Regions from separate parts of the Homo sapiens genome. Here all the other regions are linked to region 1. Evidence: promoter capture Hi-C in 16 types of primary human blood cells and fetal thymus (Javierre and others, 2016). All regions are on one chromosome and are shown on one strand. The core of a region is centred on a gene start or on the middle of the fragment in contact, and the rest is flanking DNA. Distances in the headings are between cores, read along the strand shown. Region 1 holds the start of ZC2HC1A (zinc finger C2HC-type containing 1A). Region 2 has its middle 120 kb from the start of PKIA. Region 3 overlaps MITA1 (metabolism induced tumor activator 1).

The links. The method cuts DNA at HindIII sites, captures the fragments that hold promoters and counts their contacts. A CHiCAGO score of 5 or more calls a contact.
Region 2: a fragment that was not itself captured here is called in contact with the fragment with the promoter of ZC2HC1A in region 1 in 7 of 17 cell types (naive CD4 T cells, activated CD4 T cells, non-activated CD4 T cells and 4 more); the score reaches 12.7 in naive CD4 T cells.
Region 3: a fragment that was not itself captured here is called in contact with the fragment with the promoter of ZC2HC1A in region 1 in 1 of 17 cell types (total B cells); the score reaches 6.8 in total B cells.

The regions. Positions count from the first base shown.
Region 1 is chr8:78,664,773-78,667,394 of GRCh38, forward strand. It overlaps ZC2HC1A (zinc finger C2HC-type containing 1A), which reads left to right and starts at 1,317. Exons shown (of 9, transcript NM_016010.3): 1 at 1,317-1,392. The coding sequence starts at 1,377. LOC105375911 (a long non-coding RNA gene) reads right to left here and starts at 1,207. Exons shown (of 4, transcript XR_007060972.1): 1 at 233-1,207. RefSeq lists enhancers at 440-948, 949-1,456, 1,421-1,470 and a silencer at 1,131-1,350. The HindIII fragment of the contact is 1,596 bases long and covers 732-2,327 here.
Region 2 is chr8:78,390,450-78,393,071 of GRCh38, forward strand. No RefSeq gene overlaps it. Among named protein-coding and RNA genes, the nearest start is that of PKIA, 120 kb to the right of the region's middle. The HindIII fragment of the contact is 2,565 bases long and covers 38-2,602 here.
Region 3 is chr8:78,932,780-78,935,401 of GRCh38, forward strand. MITA1 (metabolism induced tumor activator 1) reads left to right here. Exons shown (of 3, transcript XR_002956715.2): 2 at 964-1,114. The region is part of intron 2 of LOC105375912 (a long non-coding RNA gene); the gene reads right to left. Among named protein-coding and RNA genes, the nearest start is that of LINC02605, 97 kb to the left of the region's middle. The HindIII fragment of the contact is 1,609 bases long and covers 523-2,131 here.

The DNA.
Region 1 (2,622 bases), core at 67-2,566:
TAGAGTAGCTTATTGCCTGCAAGGCTATGGGTTGGCCAAGGAGGCCCAGGATCTCAGAGAAGCAGAAGAGCCAGGGGAACCAGGGAAGGGCGGAGGGAGTCATTGAGGCATGGTTGAAGTGGTCTTTACATGGCTCCACACAACAGATGGACTCTACCACATTCAAATGCACTTGGAGCACCTTCTCAGTAAGAGATGATGCCCCCTCAAGTGTTTGCTTGTTTAAACATACCTTCATGTGAGTGGAGAGTAGGAGGAATCCTGCTTCCTGAAGGTAACTGATTTCATAGTAGATGAAGTTAGATATGAAGTTAAACTCTTCAATTAAACAGATTAACAATAACATTAATCCGAGGTTTGTTATGGACAACACATTAATACTGGTAACTTGCCAGTAGATACGCTATAGTCAGCAAACAGTACAGCTTGTTTACGATTGCTAAATCAAATTTTCAAAGAAATGTAGTTCTGGTAATTGTAAGCAAAACCGTTAAAATGGTCTGAGTTAGTTTTGAAGTTACTTTCATCTTCAGGAGGTTTTGAACTCTGTTAGAGACGGGCGGGCCTCATTCTGTCAGGTTGTAGGTTAATTCCCCAACTCAAACTTCCCCGATCAAACATTGTCAGGCCAGGCGACTGTTTTGGTTTATGGATGATAAAGTATAGGGCCAAGGTAGGCCAAGAGTAGAAGACAGAGGGAGGGCTGGGTTTCACTTCTAATTTTTGGCCCAAGCTTTCATGGTGAGGAAACTGTTTTCAAGGGCTTAGAGCAATCGCAGTTCCACAATCGCAGATAGAAAGTATGATTTCTCTGGAAAAAAAGTGTCTTAACCTATGAAGCTGTGTGTGAAGATCAAGTGTAGGGGATACGCTGAGGTCAAGTCATGCGACCAAAGACCGGAAAACGGAGATTGCTGCATGCAAGCGTGCTGGGCGTTTGTTTGGTTTGCTTGCCTGCTTAAAGTATCCACTGGGAGGGATGGCGGCTAGAAGTCAGAGGCATTGACTGATTGAGGAACTGGTGAAGCGGAGCCCATGAGGTGCTGAGGTACTCTAAATAGGAGGATAAGGTATGAGGCAAAACAAGGCTGGAGTCAAACAAAGGCGCCGTTGCATCGCAGATTGCAACCTGAAGCGGCTCCCGGCTCCCTGGAGAGTAACCCGGAGAGACGGACAGGGGTGGCAGCCAGGAGGAGACCGCAGGAACCTCGCCTCCGCCGCGGCCCCGCCCCCACGGATCCCCGCCCCCGCAGTTGCGGAACCAATGGGAGCTCGGAATGTTAGCGGGTGGGAGGTGCGGCTGGGTTGCTACAGCCAGAGCTGGGCGGTGGCGGGCGCTGCTGAAGGAGTCTCGCTGAGCTCGAGGAGGTGGCGCGATGGAGGGACTGGAAGGTGAGGCGATGAAGGGATGAGGGCAGGACGGCTAGAGCGGGCCCGAAACAGCTGGGGACCCTGGACACCAGTAGCAGGAAGGCGAGGGCTGGTTCGGTGCGGCGGACCTCGCCGCGTCCCGCCGCGCCTCCGGAGGCTGGGGCCGAAGGGAACCGGACAGTCCCCGATGCGGTGGAGCTAACGCTACCAGGCTGCCCCGCCTCAGACGGTCTTCAACTGGGCTTTCCCGCCCGGAGCCAGATCCTGCCCCTGGCAAGACGCCTGCACGTCTCTTCCTACCATTTTCTGATCTTGCTTGACTCCTGAGTGCCCTTTTAGTGATCCCAGTCTCTGGCCAGATTTTGTTTTCCTTGTACTGGACTCTCTCCATTATTGTCCACGGCCTTAACACCAACAGGCCACTTTGTGCTGCAGCCCCGGGGTGTGTCTCCAGCCTCGAGCTCCTGACATTCCTTGGCCGATTTCCCTAGGTAACCGGCTTTTTACATTTCGACAGCATCTTCTGTCGGAGGGATGTCAGAGCATCTCCTAAGGAAGTGTCACTGGCCAGCTTTAGAGCCGGTACAATAGATTACCCGGAGGATTTGATGACTTATTCACGGCCGCTGTGTGAGGAAGAGCCTGTATTGGTTCCTTATCTTTGGGTTTATCTTTGTACTGTAACCATGACTCCAGATTTTGCTTTGTTCCCAGTTCTTTCACTTTTTCTCTATTCTGTTTACCCATTTTATCCTGTGTAATGAAAGCATTCACCTAAAAACAAAGGAAGGACAAAAACCACAATAACTAGCATTGGCAACAACAGTTTCAAGATTTTTTAATTTGTTATGATGAAGAACAAACCTTCAGAATTGAAAGATCCTATTGTCTTGATTTAGCTCCTTTCCCCCGTCTCCTAGTTTACACGGATTCAGTTGGAATTAAGAATGAGCAGAAGCTTTTGAGTCTTGTGTATTGTTGCATGCCAGGGAGTAAAATATTCTACATTGTGTGATGAAGTGCAAAGTGGTAGCCGGTAACTTTTTCAGTCACCTATTCACCAAAAAGCAGATGTAATAACATGAGTAGAAGTTTATTTCGTGCTTTTGCTCTGATAAATGATTCTGATAATTTTCCGTTTGTGGACAGCTGCAGTATGCTATGGCCTAATGAAGGTCTTGTTTTTTGCTTATGTGTTTTTGGAAGATAATTCAAGTTTCCATGAAATAAGGAATTGTAATGATAGTACAG
Region 2 (2,622 bases), core at 70-2,569, 270 kb before region 1:
GGTCTCAAAGCTTCAAAGGACGAGCTTTTTTTTTAGAAGCTTATGTAGCTGGTGACTTTAAACTGAAGCCAATGTTCATTTACCATTTTAAAAATCCTAGGCCTCTTAAGAATTATACTAAATCTAATCTACCCTGCCTATGCTCTATAAATAGAATAATAAAGCCTAGATGGCAACGCATCTGTTTACCACACAGTTTTCCAAATATTTTAAGCCCACTGTTGACCTACTGATCAGAAGAAAAGGATTACTTTCAAAAGATACTGCTCATTGACAATGTGCGAGTAATCCAAGGGCTCTGATAGAGATGTACACAGAGAGTAATGTTTTTATGCTAACACAACATTCATTCTGCGGCTTATGAATCAAGGAGTAATTTCTACTTTCAAGTCTTATTATTTAAGAAATACATTTTATAACACTACAGCTGCCATAGATAGTGATTTCTCTGATTGATCTAGGCAAAATAAATTTGAAAACTTCTGAAAAAGACTCACCATTCTAGATGTCATTACGGACATTTGTGATTCATGAGAAGAGTTTAAAACATCAACATTAAATAGATTTTGGAAGTTGATTTCAACCCTCATGATGACTGAGGCATTTAAGACTGCAGTGAAGAAGGTAGCTGCAGATGTGGTAGAAATAGCAAGAGAACTAGAATCCAAAGTGGAGCCCGAAGATGTAACTGAATTGCTGCAATGTTACGATCAAACTTGAATGGATGAAGAGTTTCTTGTTACACATGAGCAAAGAAAGTGGTTTGTTAAGACAGAATTTACTCCTGATCAAGATGCTACGAACATTGTCAAAACAAGAACAAATAATTTAAGTATATTCCACACACTTAGTTGATAAAGCAGCAGCAGAGTTTGAGAGGATTGCCTCCAATTTTGAAGAACATTCTACTCTGGGTAAAATGTTATTAAATAGCATTGCATGCTATACAGCAATAATTTGTGAAACAAAGAGTCAATCAATGTGGCAAACTTTATTGTTGGTGTATTTTAAGAAATCACCACAGTCAACACCCTGATCAGTCAGTAGCCATCAACACTAAGGCAAGATCTTCCACCAGCAAGAAGATTACTACTCAGTGAGTTTTGTGTATTTTAGCAATATTTTAATTAAGGTGTACATTGTTTTTTTAGATGTAATGCTATTGTGAACTTAATAGACAACAGTATAGTATAAATATAATTTTTTTTTGAGATGGAGTCTCACTCTGTCGCCACGCTGGAGTGCAGTGGCGTGATCTTTGACTCACTGCAAACTCTGCCTCTGGGTTCAAGCGATTCTCCTGCCTCAGCCTCCCAAGTAGCTAGGATTACAGGCGCACCACCACACCCAGCTAATTTTTGTATTTTTACTAGAGACGGGGTTTCACCATGTTGGTCAGGATTGTCTGCATCTCTTGACCTCGTGATCCGCCCATAGGCCTCCCAAAGTGCTGGGATTACAGGCATGAGCCACCTTGCCCCTCCAGATATATCTTTTATGGGCACTGGGAAACCAAAAAAAAAAAAAAAAAATTGTGTGACTTGTTTTATTGTGGTATTTGTTTATTGCCATGGTCTGGAACCAAACCCACAGTATCTCTAAGGTACACCTTTATCTACTATGTGCCGGGGAAAATAAACATAATAACATGCCTACCTTAAACACAGACTTTTTTCTAGTATTACTTTTTTAAACTTTAAGCTATTTGATATGTGTGTAAGGGGATAAGCAGACAATGATGCAATCCAAGATATATCTTCCCACATTTGAACAAGGTTAGACTTCAAATTACTCAATAGTATTGTACTATGATCTTAGTGGATACTGAAAGATCTTCCTGTCTCAAAGTATCTCTGTTACATGAAGCCTAGAGGTGCTTCACACTTGAGTCAAGATACTCTTTATTTGTTTGAATCATTAAGTCAGACATTTCTTGTTAACAATGAGTACAGTTTTTCACCAGAAATCTACCTATCACGTAGCTCAGAGAAAAACTCTCAGAGAAAGGAAACCCGAATAGGCAAAATGTCAAGGTTCCACCTCCCACACATAGGCTACTGAGAGGTTTGTAAGACTCACAGAGGCACCTAGGGACACTGGGCATTTAGTAAATAGATCATGAAAGAATCCTAGAAAATAAGACTACCCCTAGGCAAGGAGAAACTAAGTAGGTTAAGTTTGTCTTTTATACTCTTCCCCCCTTTTCTATAGCACTGCTGTTTCCATCCAGGGTCTTTTTTGTATCCTCAATAGATTTACACACACACGCTCATGCCTTCACATGCCCAGACACACACACACATACACATATAACAGAGAGACTCCAGTTTGCGCCAATGAAATTCAACTCATACCAACTCAGAAAAACACATAATGCCCTATATTTTACACACTTTGAAAATACTTGCATTTTTATAGAAATACTTGCATTTTATCAACTCAAAACCCTTTCTAACGAAGGAAATCTTTTTCTAATACTGAAAGTTGGCAGTTGGCAAAGAAAATTTGGGTTCCACAGAAACAGGCCTAGCCTCTTCCCACCACCATCTTTCATACACTTGGGGGAAAATGTATCACCACATAGGCTGCAAAGTCAAAATCAAGCTTTACCAACATTACAAT
Region 3 (2,622 bases), core at 77-2,576, 270 kb after region 1:
GTTTATTATTCCCCGGAGTTATTACAAAGAGCAGGTTGAAATACCCTTATAATTCCCTGGGCTAATAAAGAAGCACCAGTACTAAAGTATTTCCATTGGCCGCATGATCTCCCTGGAGAAACATAGCACTTCTAGTCTTGCTCCAATGCCACTTTATGTTCCCATTCTACATTTCCTTTCTTGAATGGAAGAGAAGAATGAATGTTAAACAAGAAGGGGGTCAGAGAGAGGAAGAGTTGCATACAAATACAAGGACAGGGATGAAAGGAAAGGGAGGAGACAGGGAATATACCTCCTGAAGAGACACTGAGCCATGTTGCTATGGCATAAACCTCCAGTTAGGTAAACATATTAAAGTGCACTTATATCCATAATTTCTTTCTTAAAAGGGGGAAGCAAAAGATGTTTGGAGAAGGAGAATAGTCAAGAAGATGAAAATAATGACTAATGTTGTTCTTGTTACCTGTTTGCCAGTCTCACTCAAATGAGGATGACTATTTAGAGTAATATTGAATTATAGAAAGCTTTATGTGATTATAAGCCCGAGAAAGAAGCACCCAAACGTACATGTAAAAGGTGGGCTAATGAGAGGCAAAGGGAAGGAAAGATGAAGGAGAGAAGGAAAATAAGGAAATGCCAGTTATTAGTTTAGAATACCCGAATACCACTCTTCTTCTTCTAAAATATTTAATTGTGAAAATAACTTTATTCTTATCTTAGAAATTTGAAAACAATACATTTTGCATTATGTTATAAATCAGAAATGGGAACACTTTATTATTGTTTATCAATTTTGTAGAGGAGAAAAAATTGGGATCATAGCAATAAAAAAATGCTTGCTTTATTTGCTTTTGAAGATAATAAAACATTAATTTATACACTTAAAAATTAATCATTAGGACATTAAACACTATGAAATGAAAATACCAGATTTAACTTATTCTATCTTTAAATTAATTACAGACAACCACAGTTGCTAACAGTATGAGTTCTGCAGTTATACAGAACTAAGTCCATTAGCTGTGTGACCCATGGCCAAATATTTTCCTTCTCTGTGCCTGCATTTCTTCATCTGCAAACTGGAATAATGATAGCAACTACTTCAGAGGACTATGTGAGTATTAAATGAAGTAATCCTTGTGATGAGTTTCTCAGAATGCCTTGCATATGATAAATTCTTAACATGTGTTGGCTTCATCATTATTTTGTTATTTTATTATATATATATTTTTAAATTTTAACAGCTTTATTGAGGTATAATTGATATACAAAGAACTGCACATATTCAGGGTGTATAATTTGATGAATTTGGATGTATGCAAATACCCACACAACCATCACCACTCAAGGTAATAGATGTATGCAACTTCTCCAAGTTTTTTTGTGTCCCTTTGTTTTTGTTTTCTTTCATTTTCCTGGGAAGAACACCTAACAGGAAATCTACCTTCTTAACATATGATCCAGCAATACCACCTCTGGGTATATATTCAAAGGGATTGAAATCAGGATCTCAAAGAGACATCTTCATTCCCATGTTCATTGTAAAATTAGTCACAATAGCCAAGATATGAAAACAACCTGTTTCCATTGACAGATAAATGCATAAAGAAAATGTAGTATACAATGGAATTATTCATCCTTAAAAAAAAGAAAATCCTGCCATTTGAGACAACATGGATGAACCTGAAGGACATTATGCTAAGAGAAAGAAGCCATTCAAGAAGGGTAAATAGTTTATTATTACACTTATGTGAGGTATCTATAATAGTCAAACTCATAGAAGCAGAGAATATAACAGTGGTTGTCAGGGGCAAGTTAAGAGAGGTGAGGAGTTGTTCAATGGTTATAAAGTTTCAATTATGCTACATGAATGAATTCTAGAGATCTACTATACAGCTAAGTGCCTATGGTTAAAAATACTGTATTGTGCTTATCATTATTATTTTGAAGAAAATATTAAAAAGTATATTATGGTCACTTTAAGGTCAACAACAGATAAGCCACCAAAGTAAAGTATCATTTTTAAAAAACCTCAAGAAATAATCGAAGCTATTTCAGCAAGACTTTAAAAATTCATTTCTAACTATGGAAATCTCATGGGATTCAGAGGACTATAATGAAATCCTAATAAAGCTTGTTGTTCTCCATAATTAACCAAATAAAATCAAATCCTTCCTGAAATTTGGTAGCTAGAAAATTATTCTAAGCTTAACTCTATGCTAGGCAGGCCAAGTTATCTCAGAAGTGGTTTTGTAGGCTACAAATTTAATAACCGATATATTCAATAATTTATAAGGCAATGGGCCAAATCTTTGGCAGTGATTTTCTTATTTTCCCACAGCTGAAGTTTCTGGAGAATTGCTCTCATATTAGAAAAAAAATACAGTAAGTGGAACTGCTTATGAAGAATATATTGTTTTTGTCTTTAAACCACTTTATTCAGGTATGATTGACATGTTTAAAAACTGTACCTATTTTATATACAATCTCACAGTGACTTTGGAGATAAGTATAAACCCATGAAATCATCACCACTACCAAGGCCATAGTACACCTGTCATCTCCCAAAGTTTCCTCCCAGCTCCTTTATTATCATTATTGGGATTTTTGTTGTTGTTGTCA